Linked DNA regions of Homo sapiens: region 1 is linked to region 2. Evidence: promoter capture Hi-C in 16 types of primary human blood cells and fetal thymus (Javierre and others, 2016). All regions are on one chromosome and are shown on one strand. The core of a region is centred on a gene start or on the middle of the fragment in contact, and the rest is flanking DNA. Distances in the headings are between cores, read along the strand shown. Region 1 holds the start of LOC105377700 (a long non-coding RNA gene). Region 2 holds the start of C1QTNF2 (C1q and TNF related 2).

Region 1 (4,675 bases), core at 863-3,362, 3.0 Mb before region 2:
TTCCATATCTACTGATGTCACTCAAATCATCTCCACATTCCGCTTTTTTTTTTTTTTTTTTTGAGGTGGAGTCTCGCTCTGTTGCCCAGGCTGGAGTGCAGTGGTGCAGTCTCGGCTCACTGCAACCTCTGTCTCCTGGGTTCAAGTGATTCTCCTGCGCCAGCCTCCTGAGTAGCTAGGACTACAGGCATGTGCCACCACACTCAGCTAATTTTTTGTATTTTTAGTAAAGATGGGGTTTCACCATGTTGGCCAGGCTGGTCTTGAACTCCTGAACTTCAGCAGTCTGCCTGTGTTGGCCTTCCAAAGTGCTGGGATTACAGGCGTGAGCCACCAAAACCTCATTTTTGAGACAAAAGTCCTTAGCATTTTAACTGCTTGTTACATTTATCTCCATATTTTTATTTATTTTGTACTTAACAACTTTTTTTCTCACAGACAATTTTAAACACACATAGAAATTCTCCCTGTTTGATTTTTAAGAGTTTCTTTGTTCTGTTTATTTTAGTTTCTGTCTTATTTTGCTTTGGAGTTTCTGTTGGCTGCTCATCATTAGAAGTGAGTAATTAGAAAGCTGTTTGGGAGCTGTGTGTATGTTTGTGGTATTTGTTGACTAATGGGCTAATGGGTTTCCTTGTAGGGTGGCAGTACTTATATGGGGCATAATTGTTTCCCCTAGGAGACATTTGGCATTGTCTCGGGACATTTTTGAATGGCCATCACTGACATGTAGTGGGAGAAACCAAGGATGCTTTGAAACATCCTGCAATGCACAAGACAGCCTCAGCAACAAGGAATTCTATGGTCCAAAACGTCAATCATGCCAAAGTGACTGGGCATCATCATCTCCGGCATATTGATGATTAGACAACTGAGAGATCTATTCACAAAACTATTTCACAAAAATTATATATAGAGCTTCTTGGGGGGCATTTATTTTCTCCACCAAGGGATCCTCTGATATTCTGTCAGCAGATATTTTCTTAAAATTAAATTTATTTGAAAGTGTTTTGAGAGTGAGGTAGGGAAGGGAGCTGGCATTCTCAGAACCTGTCTTTAGTTGGATGCCTTCTCCTGCTTTCTGGGTGCCAGGTGTTCCAGAGTCTAGGGTCTCTCTGCTGCAGTGTCCTTTGAGAACAAGCACTGCAGTATGCTGTGGGGGTTAGGGAAGAGCAGTTGCTTGGCTGTGATGAGGGCATGGGGATCTGAGAGCTTAACTGCTCCTTATACAGATTATCAACTGATCACATACATTTCAGTCTATCTTCTAGGTTACCTGGAGCCTTCAATTTCTGTGAGCTTCTCTCTCCTCCCTCCTTCCCGTCTCACCTTCCCTCCATCTCTTCCTTCTTTCCTTCCTTCTTTTTCTCCCTTTCTTTCCCTCCCTCCCTCCCTTCCTTCCCTCCCTCCCTCCCCTCTTTCCTTCCTTCCTCCTTCCCTCCCTCCTTCCCTCCCTTCCCCTCTTCCTCCCTTCCCCCTTTCTCCTTTCCTCCCTTCCTCCCTTCCTTCCTTCCTTCCTTCCTTCCTTTTTTTCTTTCTTTCCTGAATAGGATTTCTTTTTTGGAAACCTTTCCTGAAGTCATGTTTTAAGCTTTCTCAGCTCTGGTAAATCAGTTACCATTCCTATATCAACTTTCAGTCTCAAAAAAACATGTTAATTTCTTCTTCATTGTCTCCTCTCCCATTCTCTTTACATTTTGAATTTAGACTTTTTACATTTATTTCACTATTGCTTTAGTGAATTTTTATTGAACCGTGTGACAATCAACCATATATTCAGCATGCCTTGTTAAAAGGTAGTTCAAATATGCCCTTAATCTTTTTGCGTGGCTTTAGAGTATCAGATAATTTTAAAAAATGATATAAAATAATGAAGTGATTCATACTCCAGAGATTCATCATCTCCTTTTCTGGGATAGGGCATCTGATGTACAAATAAGGGCAAATGACCAGGGGGCACAGATTGTCAGACCTGAAACAGCAGTGTTCACTGGAGAAGTTTCAGACTGTAGGGGTAGCAGGCACGTGGGCACCTTTGGCCTGTTTATTCTAGGCCAGCACAGAGTTCTAGCAAAGCCAGACTTCAGATTGCCTGAGAGGGGCTTTCACCTGCATAATTAGGGATGCTCCAGCCCCTCTCCTAGAGTGGTAAGAGGCCATGATACAATAGCACTATGACGTGATGGAATCTTGGCAGCAGCCCTAGCCCTTACCTAGAGAATGGCAAAGCTGCAGAAGAAACTGCCAATGGAGTGCTCAACTCCAGAAGCCTGAAACCTAGGTCGGCTTGGCAAGGTGCCTTGCGCCCCAGTGTCATGGCTGCGGTGGAGCCGCCCACTTCAAGGGGCCCTGCAGAATCAGACAGTGAGGATAGTGGCAGCAATCACAATGGGCTGAAGATTAAATAACTCTTGTTGACTTTTTCAAGTATTTATAAGCTCCCCAGATTCCCATGGAAGTCTACAGAAGGACATAATGAGAAAAGTAGGTTTAAAGGAAATAATGTGAAATTTCTTCCACACTTGAGTTGGTGAGTTAAACGCCACTTAGTCTATATGTGGTTTAAATGTTGTCCCATTGCCTCATTATGGCCTGATGTAAATTCATATGAAACTAGGATATTTAAAAGCTTATTGGGATAGCAAAATAGAGTTGATGTATTCACTGCAAAGATTATGGAGACCATTTATTGCTCTGAACATTTCAATATGTTGGCTTCTTGAGATTCCAACCCCAAGGGGACATGATAGTGATGAAGATGGAGAAATAGAAGTTTAAACAGCACAATTTGAAGAGGGGGCAAAAGTAACACTTTGATGAACCTAGACCATATAGACCAGTATAAGGTCAGCAAAGTCTGGAGGACCATGTGCTCTCTCCCTAGATTGGACCAGAAGCCCAGGCTCTACTTTTAGGAAATGGCTCAGAGAGCGCCCACTGAACTTGTCTCTGATGTCTTAGGCAGATCAAATGCTTCTCTGGTCTCTGCTTTCACAGATGGAGGATCAGGGGTGTGTGAGCACCACCCCGCTTGGTCTTGGAGACGGATCAAATCCAGACTGGTGAGTTCCGGGGGCTTGGGCAAAGTGTGGATAGAGTTTCTGAGGGTAGGATGATGAGGACATTTGGCTTGGGGGCTGAGAAGGAACATTTTTCCTGTAAAATTAAATCTTTACTAAGACTACTGCCATTAGGGGCAAGTACTGAAGAAGATCATGTGTTTCAAAGTAAGTAGCCTGACAAGATCTTGTTTGGGTTAAAAATACGTATTTATCTTATTTTCATTTTCAATATCTTATTTTACAGAGTTCTCTATTAAGAGATGCTATGAGTGGCTAGGCGTGGTGGCTCCTGCCGGTAATACCAGCATTTTGGGAGGCCGAGGCAGGTGGATCGCCTGAGGTCAGGAGTTTGAGAGCAGCCTGACCAACATGGTGAATCCCCATCTACTAACAATACAAAAATTAGCTGGGTGTGGTGGCGCATGCCTGTAATCCCAGCTACTCGGGAGGCTGAGGCAGGAGAATTGCTTGAACCTGGGAGGTGGAGGTTGCAGTGAGCTGAGATAGCACCATTGCACTCCAGCCTGGGTGACAAGAGTGAAACTCCATCCAAAAAAAAAAAAAATGCTATGAGTAAACAGCATTGCACCGTTAAGTAGTTTACAGGATCTGTTGAAGAAGACAGGGAGTCTCTTACCAACAACAAAAGGCGTTCCAACGCCTGGAATTCAACCGTATGGATGCACAGTGTGTTCTAGTTATAAAGTGGCTGATTTCAGGTAAAAGGAAAAAGTAAAGGAAAAAATCCTGTAGTGAGTGGGAAATAATAAATGCCTACGAGGCAATCCTTGGCATTCCTTGGCCTGTCACTCCAGTCTCTACCTTCAGCTTCCCATAGCCATCTCCATATTTCTCCTTTTCTCAAATCTCCCTCTCTTTTCTCTTAGAAGGATGCTAGTCATTGAACACAGGGCCTTCCTAAATCTGGATGATCTCATCACAAGAGTCTTTACTTAATTACATCTGCAAAGCCCTTTTCTCCAAATAACATCATGTTCGCAGATACTGAGGGTGGGGCCTGGATACATCTTTCAGGGGCCACTATGAAACTCATTACAAAGGCCTAATTCATTTTTCCTGATTGGCCCACACTGCTTCTCCGTCCTCTGGGATGCTGCAGTACTATTCTGTTTGTGCGCCTGTCTCACAGGAGTGATTAGCAGATCTTTATACTCGGTGTCTCTAGCATGATGCCTGATGTACCATAAGGCTTCAATGTGTTTGTTGAACTTAAGCAAAGCATCGCTTGCATCATGTCCTGAGTGTAAGCCTGGCTCACACTCAGCCGTGATATGTTATTCAGATCACAGCCACTCACGATACTCTGGGAAGTCAGCACGCTCCTACCAAGGCCAGACATCTCTGAACTGGAAAACACTTTACTCAGAGCTACCCATTTTTTTTTATGTCTTATAGAAGGGGCCAAGTGGAGAGGGCAGCTACTCATGTACTCATTTTTATTCATTCGTTTGTTCATCCATTTAAGAAACACTGAACACCTATTCTGAGCCAGGCCCTGCCCCAGGCATTTGAGATACAATGTGTGTATGGTAAAACCCTCAGCATCTGGGCTGGGATTGGAACAAGTGAACACTCAATTTACATTTATTGTG
Region 2 (4,332 bases), core at 920-3,419:
GAATCGTTTGAACCCGGGAGGTGGAGATTGCAGTGAGCTGAGATTGTGCCACTGCACTCCAGCCTAGGCAACAGAGCAAGACTCCATCTTAAACAAACAAACAAACAAATGTTCGTAGACTGAATTCAAGCAGAGAGTAAAGACAGAGAGAGGCTAGGGAGAGGAAGTTCTAAGCCCCATTCTAGCTTGACACAGTTCCTGCAGCTCGTGGAACTGCCACCGGACAAGTATTTTGGATTGCATGCTACATGAAGCCATCACCACTGCAAGGAACCATAGGACAGGGACCCAGGAACTCTGCTAGGCTTCAGGAAACCTAGGTTCCAGGTATCCTTCAAAAGTTGGAAAAACATGTGCCCCCATTCATTCAATCAGTAGTGTTTATTAAATGTTTCACACTACCAGGTATAGCAGCACTGCCTTTCTTAACTTTTCATTAACCTTTTTTTTTTAACCAATGAGAGCATGCCAGTGATTTCAACCTCTGTCATGATGGAGCCACATGGATAACACACAGATATTACCACTCTACTCTAGGAGAGGGGCTTTCCTGAGCCCTTTAGATTCTGAATGGCCTCCAGGCATTCTAAGCAGTTTCCTCACCTTTCCAATTGCTGACACATCTGACCCAAGAGGCGGTGGATGGAAGTTTCCTTTCCAGCCATCTGTGTATCAACACCCTAAACTCCACTCCACATGTTATCATTCCTTCATTTTTTGAGCTCACACTTCCCCTACATTCAGACAAGTCTCAGTCATCTCTCAGGGTTCACCTGAAACATCAGTTTCCCAGGCCTTCCCCTGACTGCCCAGTTTATACTTTAAGCTTTTCTTTTCTATAACACTCATTTCACTTGTAACCACTTGTGTCATCCCCAGCTGGAGGACTCTAAGTTTCATGAGGGTAGGCATCAAGCCTATTTGTTTCCCTCTATGTCCCCAGCACCTTGCTTGGGGACTGACACACAATGGATGCTTATTAAATATTTGTTGAATGAATGTTTGTTAAGCCTACAAACTTTCTTTCTCAAATAGTATTTATGTGATATTAGTAATAATTCCCTACATAGTTCAATGGCTTACCAAACATCTTTATGAGTTAGTGTCCCAACTTTGGGGTAAAGGCAGTGCAGGTAATATTATTCTCCCATTTTTTTTAGAAAATAAAACACCATCTGTGAGATTATCTGACTTGATTAAGGTGGTGGATACAACATTAGAATTCAAATGCATATCTGTATTAAAATTCTGACTGTAAATTTTGTGTCACTTACCAGCTGTTAACCAGATGCTCTGGCTGTGCAGAGTGAAATATGGGTAGCTAGTGGAAGAGAGCAGTGGAAGGAACAGGGAGAAGCAAAAGCCAGGCCTTGGAGGATTTCCTTTCCTCCAGTGCCTGCTTGATTCCCAAATAGGATTGCTTTGCCTATCCTGGGAGCTGAGACCCTCCATAAGTCTCTCAATGACTTGAGGCTGGGCCAGAGTGAGTGAGACCAGTGAATCCTCACCTTCTGGGGAGAAGAGAAATGAGAGCTGGTACACAGGGGAACTCACCCACACTAGTGTGTATGTGCACACTCACATCCGGACAAAATCCACACCAAGGCATGCATAGAAATCAACACATAGAATGAGCCACTGCACAGTCATACACACATTTAAACATACACCCCACATACAGATGTCAAACCAACACACAGAATGAGCCCCTGCACAGTCACACACACATTTAAACATGCACCCCACATACAGATGTCTAGCCACTATCGTGTACATCCAACCACTGATGTGCCCTCCAGTTTTACACCAAGCTGCCATCTTGGACATGTGCATGCATGTGTACATACACCGAACAGCCCTGATGAAAATTTGGATAAACGCACGTACGCACACACACAACTAAACACATCCCTATGATTTATCATCACACTCAAGTACATGCACACCTTTGCAAACGCGTGGGAAACAATCACTCTGATCACTCTGGCGCACAAAACCTCCAAATACGCTAACAAGCTCTACAAACGCAGAGATGCATCGACACACCCGAGTTGTCATCAGCACTGCAAGTTTTTTCCAAACAGCTGCTAAAAAGAGAATGCTGCGCTGCGGGCCAGCCCACGTGACCGGGAGGAAGGCTCTCCCGCCCATGACGGGATGGGAAAACTATGCCTGGGGCCGACGCTCTGCCCGGCTGCTGCCGCTGAGGAAAGCCGGGACGCGGAGCCCCGCCGAGAGCTTCTTTGCTCCGGACGCCCCTGGACGTGGCGGGCAGCCGCGAGGGTGAGTGTCCCGCACCGCGGTCGGGCGGGGGCGGCAAGTGCGCGCGGGGAGGAGGAGGAGGAGGACTCGCACTGCTGCGGGCGGGGCGGGATGCGGAAGGTGGGAGAGCTGCCAGCGCGCCTTTATTGCGGGCTGGGCAGCTCCTGCATTCCTGCCTCTCGACTTCTACCTTCGTATTATAATACAAATTAACATGTTTTGAGTCCTTACTGTGTGCCAGGCTCTGTGCCCAGTGGTTTACCCGTTACAATAGTAACACCCGTAGCTCTGCCATTTATTGAGCGCCTACTTTGTGCCAAGTCCTGCTAGCACTTTACTTGTGCTCTTTCATTTTCATGACAACAGATTATCCCCGTCTACAAAAGAGGAACTGGGCTCAGAGACATTAATGACTTGGACAGGGTTGCACAGCTAGTAATTGATAAAAAAGGGACTTGAAGTCTGGTAAATCTGAGTCCAATACCCGAGCTAACAATCACAGTTAACATTTACTGAATGCATTATTTCACTTAACCTTCACATTTATTTAAATATATGATACAGACTGGCAAACTGAGCTCAAAAGGTATTGAACGGCAGGCAGAGATTTGTACTCAATGCCTCATGACTCTCTTCACTCTCCTTCCCCACCTAAACTACTTGTCTTAATATGCTTTGTCCTTATTTCTCCATCCCCACTGCTGCTGCCCCATTCTAGGACCTCGCTTTTCAGCTAAATAATTGCAGTGGGCCCTAATAGTCTCCCAGCCCAGGTCTCTCCTCTGACACCATGAGTCCCTTGCATTACCTCATTGTGATCCTCCTCTGCTCCTTGACCACAAAATTGCCCTGCTTGGAAGCCTGCAGAGGTCCCTTCCTTAGACTGGCCATCTCTCAGAGACCCTGTGTTTCCACCATGCTGAAGTAGCAGTAATAGAAAGACAATGTCTTACATAGGTCAATCCAAGGCTGGTGCTCAGTTAGCACTGTTAAAAATCTGTCCTCTCACATCCTTATTTTTGCCCTCCCTCTGCACCATTCTCTAATTTATTCTGTCATCTGGAGTAATTATATCAATTACTCCTGCTTTCAACTGCCCGATCCTCAAACTCTCCACACATTTCCAAGCATCACTACAGCCCTTCATTGTAACACATCAGATTCACTGCAGAATTTGTTTCCTCCCAAATGTCTGACTTCTCCCCATCTCCTAGCAGGGATACCACACTTACCAGTCTTCCAATCCTTAAACCTTAGGTTTACCTTTTGTTTTAAATGTTATAAAAGTAACGACGCTCATCACAAGAAATTCGAACAGTTCAAAAAGGTAGAAAGAGAAAAGTAAAAGCCCACACACCCCCTCCCAATTCTGAAAGGTAACCCCTTAACAAGATTGTGTCTTTTCGGAAAGTATTTCCCCAACCCTTCTGTACATATATATACTCTGTATTTGTGCTGTTTTTTTTTTTTTTAAACTCAAAGAGAAGCATACTTTACATTCCATGGTACAACTTGCTTTTTTCACTTAACAGTGTGTCTTCGCCATGTTTTCATATCTGCATATACAGGCTTACTTTGTTCTTCTAATGGGCATAGTGTGTCATTGTATGGATGAACTGAGATTATTTTTCACAAGGCTGGAGTCACGTTTGAAGCCACTCTGTCTCCATTGAATGTTCAGCAAGTTCTCCAAGGTGTCACTTTTTTCCTCTGCAAATCTCCCTATTCCTCCCCCCTGTCTCGCTATTCCTTCTCTTATGCTGACCCTGCTGATCAGACAGTCTCTCCTGCTGTCTCAATCACTGATGCTTCCTACTCCTAAATGTTCACTGTGGGGTAACAGAGTCTCTCTCCACACCCACAGCTTCACCCACTCCTTCTTCCTGGTCAAAGGCCTGCCAACCTTAATTTACCTCTGTGAGATGAACTCTTGCATAAATCAAACTTCTGTTAGTTATATTCCATTTTAGCTTCTCTTTTTTTTCTTTTTTCTTTTTTTTTGAGAAGGAGTCTCGCTCTGTTGCCCAGGCTGGAGTACAGTGGCACAATCTCGGCTCACTGCAATCTCCG

The links. Contacts are between HindIII fragments. The CHiCAGO score rates a contact against its expected background, and 5 or more counts as called.
Region 1: a contact is called between a fragment that was not itself captured here and the fragment with the promoter of C1QTNF2 in region 2, in 1 of 17 cell types (non-activated CD4 T cells). The highest score is 6.3, in non-activated CD4 T cells.

Annotation. Positions count from the first base shown.
Region 1 is chr5:163,410,706-163,415,380 of GRCh38, reverse strand. It overlaps LOC105377700 (a long non-coding RNA gene), which reads left to right and starts at 1,827. Exons shown (of 4, transcript XR_002956233.2): 1 at 1,827-3,062. The HindIII fragment of the contact is 1,038 bases long and covers 1,594-2,631 here.
Region 2 is chr5:160,368,463-160,372,794 of GRCh38, reverse strand. It overlaps C1QTNF2 (C1q and TNF related 2), which reads left to right and starts at 2,169. Exons shown (of 3, transcript NM_031908.6): 1 at 2,169-2,283. The HindIII fragment of the contact is 8,188 bases long and covers 829-4,332 here.